2 separate regions of the Homo sapiens genome follow, and region 2 is linked to region 1. The links are contacts of gene promoters, found by promoter capture Hi-C in human tissues and cell types (Jung and others, 2019). All regions are on one chromosome and are shown on one strand. The core of a region is centred on a gene start or on the middle of the fragment in contact, and the rest is flanking DNA. Distances in the headings are between cores, read along the strand shown.

Evidence for each region. Contacts are between HindIII fragments. The study calls those that stand out against the background at their distance.
Region 2: a fragment that was not itself captured here is called in contact with the fragment with the promoter of MRPS23 in region 1 in 1 of the 25 tissues and cell types used here (aorta).

What each region holds. Positions count from the first base shown.
Region 1 is chr17:57,847,503-57,852,221 of GRCh38, forward strand. It overlaps MRPS23 (mitochondrial ribosomal protein S23), which reads right to left and starts at 2,542. Exons shown (of 5, transcript NM_016070.4): 1 at 2,465-2,542; 2 at 1,738-1,908. The coding sequence starts at 2,508. RefSeq lists enhancers at 2,523-2,852, 2,528-3,037. The HindIII fragment of the contact is 5,598 bases long and covers 1-4,646 here.
Region 2 is chr17:59,821,087-59,825,759 of GRCh38, forward strand. The region is part of intron 10 of VMP1 (vacuole membrane protein 1); the gene reads left to right. Among named protein-coding and RNA genes, the nearest start is that of MIR21, 18 kb to the right of the region's middle. The HindIII fragment of the contact is 4,753 bases long and covers 476-4,673 here.

The DNA of each region.
Region 1 (4,719 bases), core at 1,292-3,791:
ATACAAAAAATTAGCCAGCTGTGGTGGTGGGCGCCTGTAGTCCCAGCTACTCAGGAGGCTGAGGCAGGAGAATGGCATGAACCCGGAAGGCAGAGTTTGCAGTGAGCCGAGATTGCGCCACTGCACTCCAGCCTGGGAGACAGAGTGAGACTCCATCTCGAAAAAAAAAAAAATACTTAGATCAGAAAAAAACAAAACTTTTTTTTTTTTTGGAGACAGGGTCTCCCTCTGTTGCCCAGGCTGGAGTGCAGTGGTGCACTCTCAGCTCACTGCAACCTCCACCTTCTAGTTTCAAGCGATTCTCCCACCTCAGCATCCAAAGTAGCTGGGACTACAGGTGCCCACCACCAAGCCCGGCTAATTTTTGGTATTTTAGTCAAGACAGGGTTTCACCATATTGCCCAAGGTGGTCTCGAACTCCTGAGCTCAGGCAATCTGCCCACCTCAGCCTCCCAAAGTGCCAGGATTACAGGCGTGGGCCACCGTGCCTGGCCCAGAAAAAAAAAATTCTTAAATAATCATTATCAATACTGACAAGGATAAAGTAAGAACTCTCAGAAACTGCTAATCAGAGTGTAAACTAAGACAACTACTTTTTTTTTGGTAGAGACAAGTCCTGCTATGTTGCCCAGGGTGGTCTCAAACTCCTGGGCACAAGCTATCCTCCCTTATGCCTCCCAAAGCACTAGGATTACAGGCACAAGCCACCACATCCAGCCTGTGATTTCTTTTTATGCTTTCTTTGTGTATCTAAATTTTCTACAAGTAGCATGTGTTGCTTTTATAATAAAAGAGGAAGTATTCTTGCCACTGAGCTTAAGAAAAAGAAAAAAAAAGAGAAAAGGGATGCTAAAAAAAAATAAAGAACACATGATTTTCCTTCAAATTCCTAGTGATTGTCTCTCTCTGTCGCCCAGGCTGGAGTGCAGTGGTGGGATCTCGGCTCACTGCAACCTCCACCTCCCAGGTTCAAGCAATTCTCCTGTCTCAGCCTTCCGAGTAGCTGGGACTACAAGCACCCACCACCATGCCCGGCTAATTTTTGTATTTTTAGTAGAGACGGGGTTTCACCATGTTGGTCTGACTGGTCTCGAACTCCTGACTTCAGGTGATCCGCCCGCCTTGGCCTCCCAAAGTGTTGGGATTACAGGCGTGAGCCACCGCACCCGGCCTCTCTTAGACTTTCAAGCATCCTTTCATCTGAGTGGCTTCAAAGAGCCGGACTACTAGATCCACAGACCACGTTCCTCCTATCTCCACTCGTGGAGAAGGCCGGCATAATGATCACCATAAGCTTGGAGTCAGAGATGTGATTCCCAGATCTGCCACCCTCCTATATATTTAGTAATTACAAGAAGTTAGCTAATTTCCTTGAGCTTCGCAGTCTCCTTGAATAAAATGGAAACAAGAATGCCTTCCTTACAAGTTAGAGTAAGGCCTTTAGAGAATGAGATAATGCTTGCAAAGAGCTTAGTACAGTGCCTGGCCCAAAGCAGATGCCCAGAAACATGCGGCTATAATTGCAATGATCTTTCGGTTGCTGGGCTCCAGATTCCACTTTTCAGAACTTCAGTTTCACTATGAGGAAGGGGTGCTGCCTCCCTAATTTGGCTAGATAAGCCTTCTCCACAGGGCAAACCCCTGACTCAATTTCATGTTTGAATTCCCAGACTGCTACCGAAACCTTCCCTTCTGAAGTTCTGTTGCCTCCTGTCCACTACAGGGCTGAGCACTCACGCTCTAATCCGATCCTCGTGGTACCAGATGTCTTGGATGGGAGCTTTGGCTTTGCCATATCGCACTCGAGGCCTTTGGAAGACGGGCTCCCTCAGCGGGGGAAAGGCGTCATATACGTCAAACCACAGGGGCTTCTCCTTCAGCACCCCGGCCCGAACCAGGTCCCGAGTCCTTAGGGAGGGAACAGAACGAAACTGGGTCACTTGCAGTAGCCTGCCAAAGCCCCTGAATCAGTCTAGCACAGTTTGGGACATTAAAGGTATTATGCGGTCTGCAACACAGAACGGGGAAGGACTGCTCCCCACCTACAGAGAAGATCTGTCCACATCCCAAACCAAACTTAACAACGCTCAGGAGAGTTAAATCCCTCTATCTTCTTTTGTGCGTCCCACCCACGTTCGGTCACGGAAAAATGCAAAGAGCGGTCTTGCATGACCTGATAAGGAAGGCCCATCAGGCTCTTCCTCCCTTCCTCTTCCTAGAGACCTCCACTCGGGGAGAGGCAGCTGCAATAATCTTTAACATGACACATAAATTCAAGGAGAGGCATCCTCAGGCACAACTATTCGGAGCCAGGAGAAAACATGAGAGGGCCTCACCCAGCTCAGCCCCCGCACCCTGCAATACGCCTCGCCCTGCTCAGGTCCGCTCCAAGGAAGAGCGTGACCGGCTGAGAACCCCAGCCTGGGGGAGGCACCCTCAGCCCACCACGGCTGGGAGCACACACCGAGAGAAGATGCTCCCTACGGTTTCCAGCCGGCTGCCTGCCATGATCTGCGCCTGGTACCGAGCGTGACTAGCTGCTACCGGAACCGGAAGCGGCTGCTCCAGGTAAAGGGCGCATAAGTTGCTGGCCGAGCCAAGGATCGCTGGGCTTTCACCGCAGCCCCTGCGGGAGAGCGGCGCAGGCAGAAGCAAGTGATAGGCCGAACGGGCGCGCTCCGAGGTTACTTGCCAGGTTCAGGCAGGAGCACTCGATAGCCGAGCCAAAAGGGCAGGAGCGAGCCAAAGCCGGACAGAAGTAATAAATGACCGAGCTGTGGGAGGGATTCATCATGATGGTTGCTTTACTCTCTCTCGCCTTGTTGAGCCAACTCCTCTGAAAAGGTGGGGCCGCGCGGAGGAGAAGTAGTGGGGCAGAGCAGGGGTGAAGCGCAGCCTACAGTCCTAGGGGAGCCAACAAAGGCCGAGATTTGAGGTCACCAGCTCTAGGCCCAGGCTGAGCCTAATGTTGTTTAGAGTCACAGACTACGCAGAAGAAAACCAAGGCCGGGGAGGGGCCGTCACTTGCCCAGCGTCGTGCTAGATCTCGGGCCTCCGCCTCTGGCTGTGTAGTGCTCCCCACTAAGCCCCTCGTCCCCGGAGTGCCACCTGCATCCACGCTAACTAGGATGCTGGCTGCAACTCGTGTTTCCCGCGGCCGGTGTCGCGGGCTACCTCCTCCTTGGAACTCGAAAAGTGAAAGTGTCCGGAACAAACAGACGCCGAGAGGGAAACGAAAAAATCTGGAGAAAGTCATCTCTCAGTGTTAAACTGTAAAAAAATATAAACTGTGTGTAGCATACCCTTTGACCCAGTAATCATATTTCGGGGAAAGAACCCCTTAGAAATTAAAGCATCAATTCATGAGGATGTTTGTGCAAGGATCATCGTTGCAGCATTGTTTGTAGTGGGAAAAAAAATCCATCAGATGAGAAATAGCTGGAAAATTATTGTTCATACTTTCTTTGGAACCCTATGCAGCTATTAAAATGAATGAGCTAGATCCACATGTATTTACCAAGGTTAAGGTACATGACTTATGTTTAAATGAAAAACGAAGTTGCAAAGAAACATGTTTAGTGGAATCTCAACGTGTTAGAAAAAAAAAAGGAAAAAGAAACACCTCTATATATGTTTGTGTTTGAGGATAGAAATTCTGCAGAAGGACACCCAAGGCTGTGAACATTGGATATCTCGGAGTGAAACTGCAGGCAGGCAAGGGAGAATTTTTTCTTCCTTTACACATGCTTCAGAGTTTGACTTGTAAAGAGATTGTATTCATATTTGAACTTTTAATCCAATGAATGTTTTGAATCACACACAATGTCTCCTGGGAGCCTAGTCAAGTCATCCTAGAGTCCTCCCACTCTGAGGCTGGTGAAGGGGAGGACGGGACTGTTTGATGAGTAGTTACTGCTTGTGTGTGTTATCTTACTGAATCCACATACCTTCCCATAAGGTAGCTATTAACATCCTCATTATAGATGAGAAAGCAAGGCCTCAGGAAGTTACATAACTTGTCTGATAAGCAACTGATAGAGCCAGCCTTGGGGGGGTGGGGCAGCCAGGGCCCTTTCCAGTGCCTCACAATGCCGCCTAAGCTATGCCTAAAGCTCGAGGCTGGTAGGCTCAAGAGTCCAGCAGAACGCCGCTCCCCACCCGCCCCCCCCACAACACACACACACACACACACACACACACACACACACACGCACGCCAGGGATCCAGTGATTTGAGGCCCAGGGCTAACCTGAGGTGGATTTCACTGCTGCCTCCAGACCCTCTGGAACAGAGAAGAGAGAGCACAGCTCTGGCCCCAGGCCAGGTGTAAAGGCTCTAGTATCCCAGCCCTCAGGAGGTCTAAAAGACCTTGCTCTGGGGAGAGTAAACATGCTCCCAGCTAAATATAGTCTTCCCAGGCCTCATAACAACTTTCTAATTCTGTCCCAGCCAGCAAGCACTATCTGCCAGCCCAGATTACAGGCACACTTCTCTTCTCCCACCAGGAACTGCTACTGTAGGTTAGTGCAGTCACTGCAGCTAAAGAGTTAAAGGGTTTATTCCAAGATCAAGGAGGGGAACCAAAGACGCAAACCCTCAATAGGGGAAGAACTGCAAGGCAGAAATGTTCTCGCTAATCTTGGGGTGGTCCCTTCCTCTTCCAAGCCTTTGAAGTTTCCCTTTCCAGCCTGCTTCTGTGACTGAGAGCAGAATATTGGT
Region 2 (4,673 bases), core at 1,602-4,101, 2.0 Mb after region 1:
CAGCCCCCCGAGTAGCTGGGACTACAGGCGCCCGCCTCCATGCCTGGCTAATTTTTTGTATTGTTAATAGAGACAGGGTTTCACGGTGTTAGCCAGGATGGTCTCGATCTCCTGACCTCATGATCCGCCTGCCTAAGCCTCCCAAAGTGCTGGGATTACAGGTGTGAGCCACTGCACCTGACCTATCTTACGTCTTTCAAAGTCAGTAATTTATTTTAAACCCCACTGGCATGGCCCCTCAAAAAATTCCAGTGATCCTTTACTCTTAAAGATAAGATGGTTTTGAATATAGTTATGCTAAAATATTCAAGACCTACTGGATTCAGATTTGTATTGAATTAAATGAGTTGTGTCGTATTTGAAAAATTATTTTTAGGAGACAGATGTTGGAATGTCCTGATGTCCTTATCATTTTCCTAGCACTGTCTACAGGGATTACCTCAGCTACTTTTCTTTTTTTTTTTTTTTTTTTTTTTGAGGCGGAGTTTCACTCTCGTTGCCCAGGCTGGAGTGCAATGGTGCGATCTCAGATCTCGACTCACCGAAACCTCCGCCTCCTGGGTTCAAGCAATTCTCCTGACTCAGCCTCCCGAGCAGCTGGGATTATAGGCATGTGCCATCATGCCCGGCTAATTTTTTATTTTTAGTAGGGACAGGGTTTCTCCATGTTGGTCAGGTCACCTGAACTCCTGACCTCAGGTGATCCACCTGCCTGGGACTCCCAAAGTGCTGGGATTACAGGCGTGAGCCACTGCACCTGGCCTTTTTTTTTTTGAGATGGAGTTTTGCTTTGTCGCCCAGGCTGGGGTACAGTGGCACAATCTTGGCTCACTGCAACCTCCGCCTCCTGGATTCAAGTGATTTTCCTGCCTCAGCCTCCCAAGTAACTGGGATTACAGGCGTGCACCACCATGCCTGGCTAATTTTTATATTTTTAGTAGAGATGGGCTTCCACCATTTGGCCAGGCTGATCTCAAGCTCCTGACCTCAGGTGGTCCGCCCACCTCAGCCTTCCAAAGTGCTGCGATTACAAGAGTGAGCCACTGTGCCCGGCCATTCTTTTCTAGATAATATATTAAACAGTATAAATAATTAGACTCAGCAGATGCTAGTAAAGCTTTATTATCAGATCCCAAAGGGTATCCTTTTAGTCTTTGTCATTAATAACATTATCTTTTAATCAGATTCTCCAATTGAGCATGACATGATTGGTTTTTTTATGTTTTGAAGTAGGAAATACTTTTTTTTTTTTTTTTTTCTGAGACAGAGTCTTGCTGTGTCGCCCAGGCTGGAGTGCAGTGGTGTGATCTCAGCTTACTCCAATCTCCGCCTCCCGGGTTCAAGCAATTCTCCTGCTTCAGCCTTCTGAGTAGCTGGGATTACAGGTGTGCACCACCACACCTGGCTAATTTTTGTATTTTTAGTAGAGATGGGGTTTCACCATGTCACGCTGGTCTTGAACTCCTGACCTCAAGTGATCCACCTGCCTCGGCCCACCAAAGTGCTGGGATTACAGGTGTGAGCCACCATGCCCAGCCAGAAATGCTTTTAAATACAAGTGTTCAATTGAAAATTAATAAGTAGCCTCACCAAACCTAAAATGGAGATTAAGTTCAATAAAGAGAACAAATTTTTAGTAGACCCAAATATATGATTTCATATCATAATTAATAGAGTAGTACTTTATTTCAGAAAAGAGGAGGTGAACAGCTGGATTTCCTCACTAGATACACTGTCTCTAACCTGCTGTAGAAACATTCTCCTTTAGATCATTTGAAGCTAGGAATTCAGGACTAGCCTGGAAACATAGTAAGACTCTGTCTGTCTCTACAAAAAAACGCACTAACAAATTAGTTGGGCATGGTGGTACCCGCCTGTAGTCCCTGCTACCCAAGAGGCTGAGATGGAAAAATTGTTTGAGGCAGGAGGTTGAGGCTGCAGTGAACCATGATCATACTACTGCACTCCATCCTAGGCGACAGAGTGAGACCCTGATTCTTGAAAAAAAGAAAGGAAGAAAGAAAATAAACATTCTCCTTTAATTGTTAGTTCTCTCCTTCACACTGTTAAAACCCTGAATGGGCCAGGCATGGTGGCTGACGCCTGCAATCCCAGCACTTTGGGAGGCCAAGGCGGGTAGATCATTTGAGGTCAGGAGTTTGAGACCAGGCTGGCCAACATGGTAAGACCCCCATCTCTACTAAAAATACAAAAATTAGCTGGGCATGGTGCCGCATGCCTGTAATCTCAGCTATTTGGGAGGCTGAGGTAGGAGAATTTCTCGAACCTGGGAGGCGGAGGTTGCAGTGAGCCGAGATCACACCACTGCACTCCAGCCTGGATGACAGTGAGATATGTCTCAAAAAAAAAAAAAAAAATCGGGCCGGGGGCAGTGGCTCATACCTGTAATCCCAGCACTTTGGGAGGCTGAGGTGGGCGGATCACAAGGTCAGGAGATCAAGACCATCCTGGCTAACATGGTGAAACCCAGTCTCTACTAAAAATACAAAAAAAAATTAGCCGGGTGTGGTGGACGGCACCTGTATCTCAGCTACTTGGGAGGCTAAGGCAGGAGAATGACGTGAACCCGGGAGGCGGATCATGCAGTGAGCTGAGATCACGCCACTGCACTCCAACCTGGGTGACAGAGCGAGACTCTGCCTCAAAAAAAAAAAATCGCTGAATGGTATAGCAAATCATCAAACTAAATTAGTAAACTTCAGAATGCAGTCTTTTGAAGGATATTTAAAACCTTGCAGTCACAAATAAAGGAGAGATAACTTGTCATGGTAGAGAACAAAATCAAAAGACAAGCAAGAAAAAAGCCAGCAGCAGTTGAAATTTAAAATAAAATTATGAGATAATAAGGCAAGGAAGAATGAAAAATGAATCCCGGGCCGGGCGCAGAGGCTCACGCCTGTAATCCCGGCACTTTGGGCAGATCACCTGAGGTCAGGAATTCGAGACCATGCTGGCCAACATGGTGAAACCTTGTCTCCACTAAACATACAAAAATTAGCCGGGCATGGTGGCAGGCACCTGTCGTCCCAGCTACTCAGGAGGCTGAGGCAGGAGAATCACTTGAACCCAGGAGGCAGAGCTTGCAGTGAGCTGAGATCACACCACTGCACTCCAGCCTGGGCGACACAGCGAGACTCTGTCTCCAAAAAAAAAAAAAAGGGTATCAAAAATCTTTTGGCTGGGGCCGGGCATGATGGCTCACATCTATAACCCCAGCACTTTGGGAGGCCAAGGCAGGTGTATCACCTGAGGTCAGGAGTTCAAGACCAGCCTGGGCGACCTGATGAAACCTCATCTCTACTAAAAATACAAAAAATTAGCCGGGCGTGGGGGTGGGCGTCTATAATCCCAGCTACTCGGGAGGCTGAGACAGGAGAATCACTTGAACCCGGGAGGTGGAGAATGCAGTGAGCCAAGATCGTGCCAGTGCACTCCAGCCTCAGTGACAGAGGGAGACTCCTTCTAAAAAAAAAAAAAAAAAAGGACCAGGCGCAGTGGCCCACGCCTGTAATCCCAGCACTTTGGGAGGCCGAGGTGGGCGGATCACCTGAGGTCAGGAGTTCAAGACCAGCCTGGCCAACATGGTGAAACCCCATCTCTACTAAAAATACAAAAATTAGCCAAGCGTGGTGATGGGTGCCTGTAGTCCCAGCTACTCAAGAGGCTGAGGTGGGAGAATCTCTTGAACCCAGGAGGTGGAAATTGTAGTGAGCCGAGATTGCGCCACTGCACTCCAGCCTGGGTGACAGAGCAAGACTCCGTCTCAAAAAAAAAAAAAAAAAAAAAATTGGCTAGGCATGGTGGCTCACGCCTGTAATCCCAGCACTTTGGGAGGCCGAGGCAGATGGATTGGTTGAATTCTCAGGAATTTGAGTCCAGCCTGGTCTCGAACATGGCGAGACCCAAAGTCAGGTGATAGAACCAAAGAACTAGGGAACTTCTAGCTCAAAAGGCATTATGTTAGTTGTGATTTTTTTTTTTTTTTTTTTTTTTTTTTGAGACAGAGTTTTGTTCTATTGCCCAGGCTGGAGCGCTGTGGTGCAATCTCGACCCACTGCAACCTCTGCCTCCTGTGTTCAAGCGATTCTCCCGAGTAGCTGGGATTACAGGCACCTGCCACCATGCCTGGCTAATTTTTGTGTCTTTAGTAGAGACAGGATTTCACGATGTTGGCTAGGCTGGTCTCAAACTCCTGACCTCATGATCCACCCGCCTTGGCATCCCAAAGTGCTGGGATTACAGGCATAAGCCACCGTGCCCAGCCCTTTTTGTTTTTTTAATTACGATTTAATACTAATTTTTATTTAATTTTAGACTTTCTCCAGTGGGAGAGACCTGTGCATATTTCTTAAAGAGCATAACCAAATCTAACTTTTAAAGTTATGATTAAAATGACATGTTCCCATATTCTCACCAAATAGGGGATGTGAATTCCCAGAAAATAACATTAAGCATATGACTCGCAGCAAACCATATGCAGAACATTGGCTCATTGTCATGTTGCCAGGGTCTTATTGGAAGACAAAGTCCCCAGTTTTACCACACAAGAAAAGTTTCCATAACTCAATCATTGAACTTGAGGGCTGGGGGATGGTGTTGGCTGGAACAGGGACTTTTTACCAGATACAGAATGTTCCATGCTCTTCTTTGCT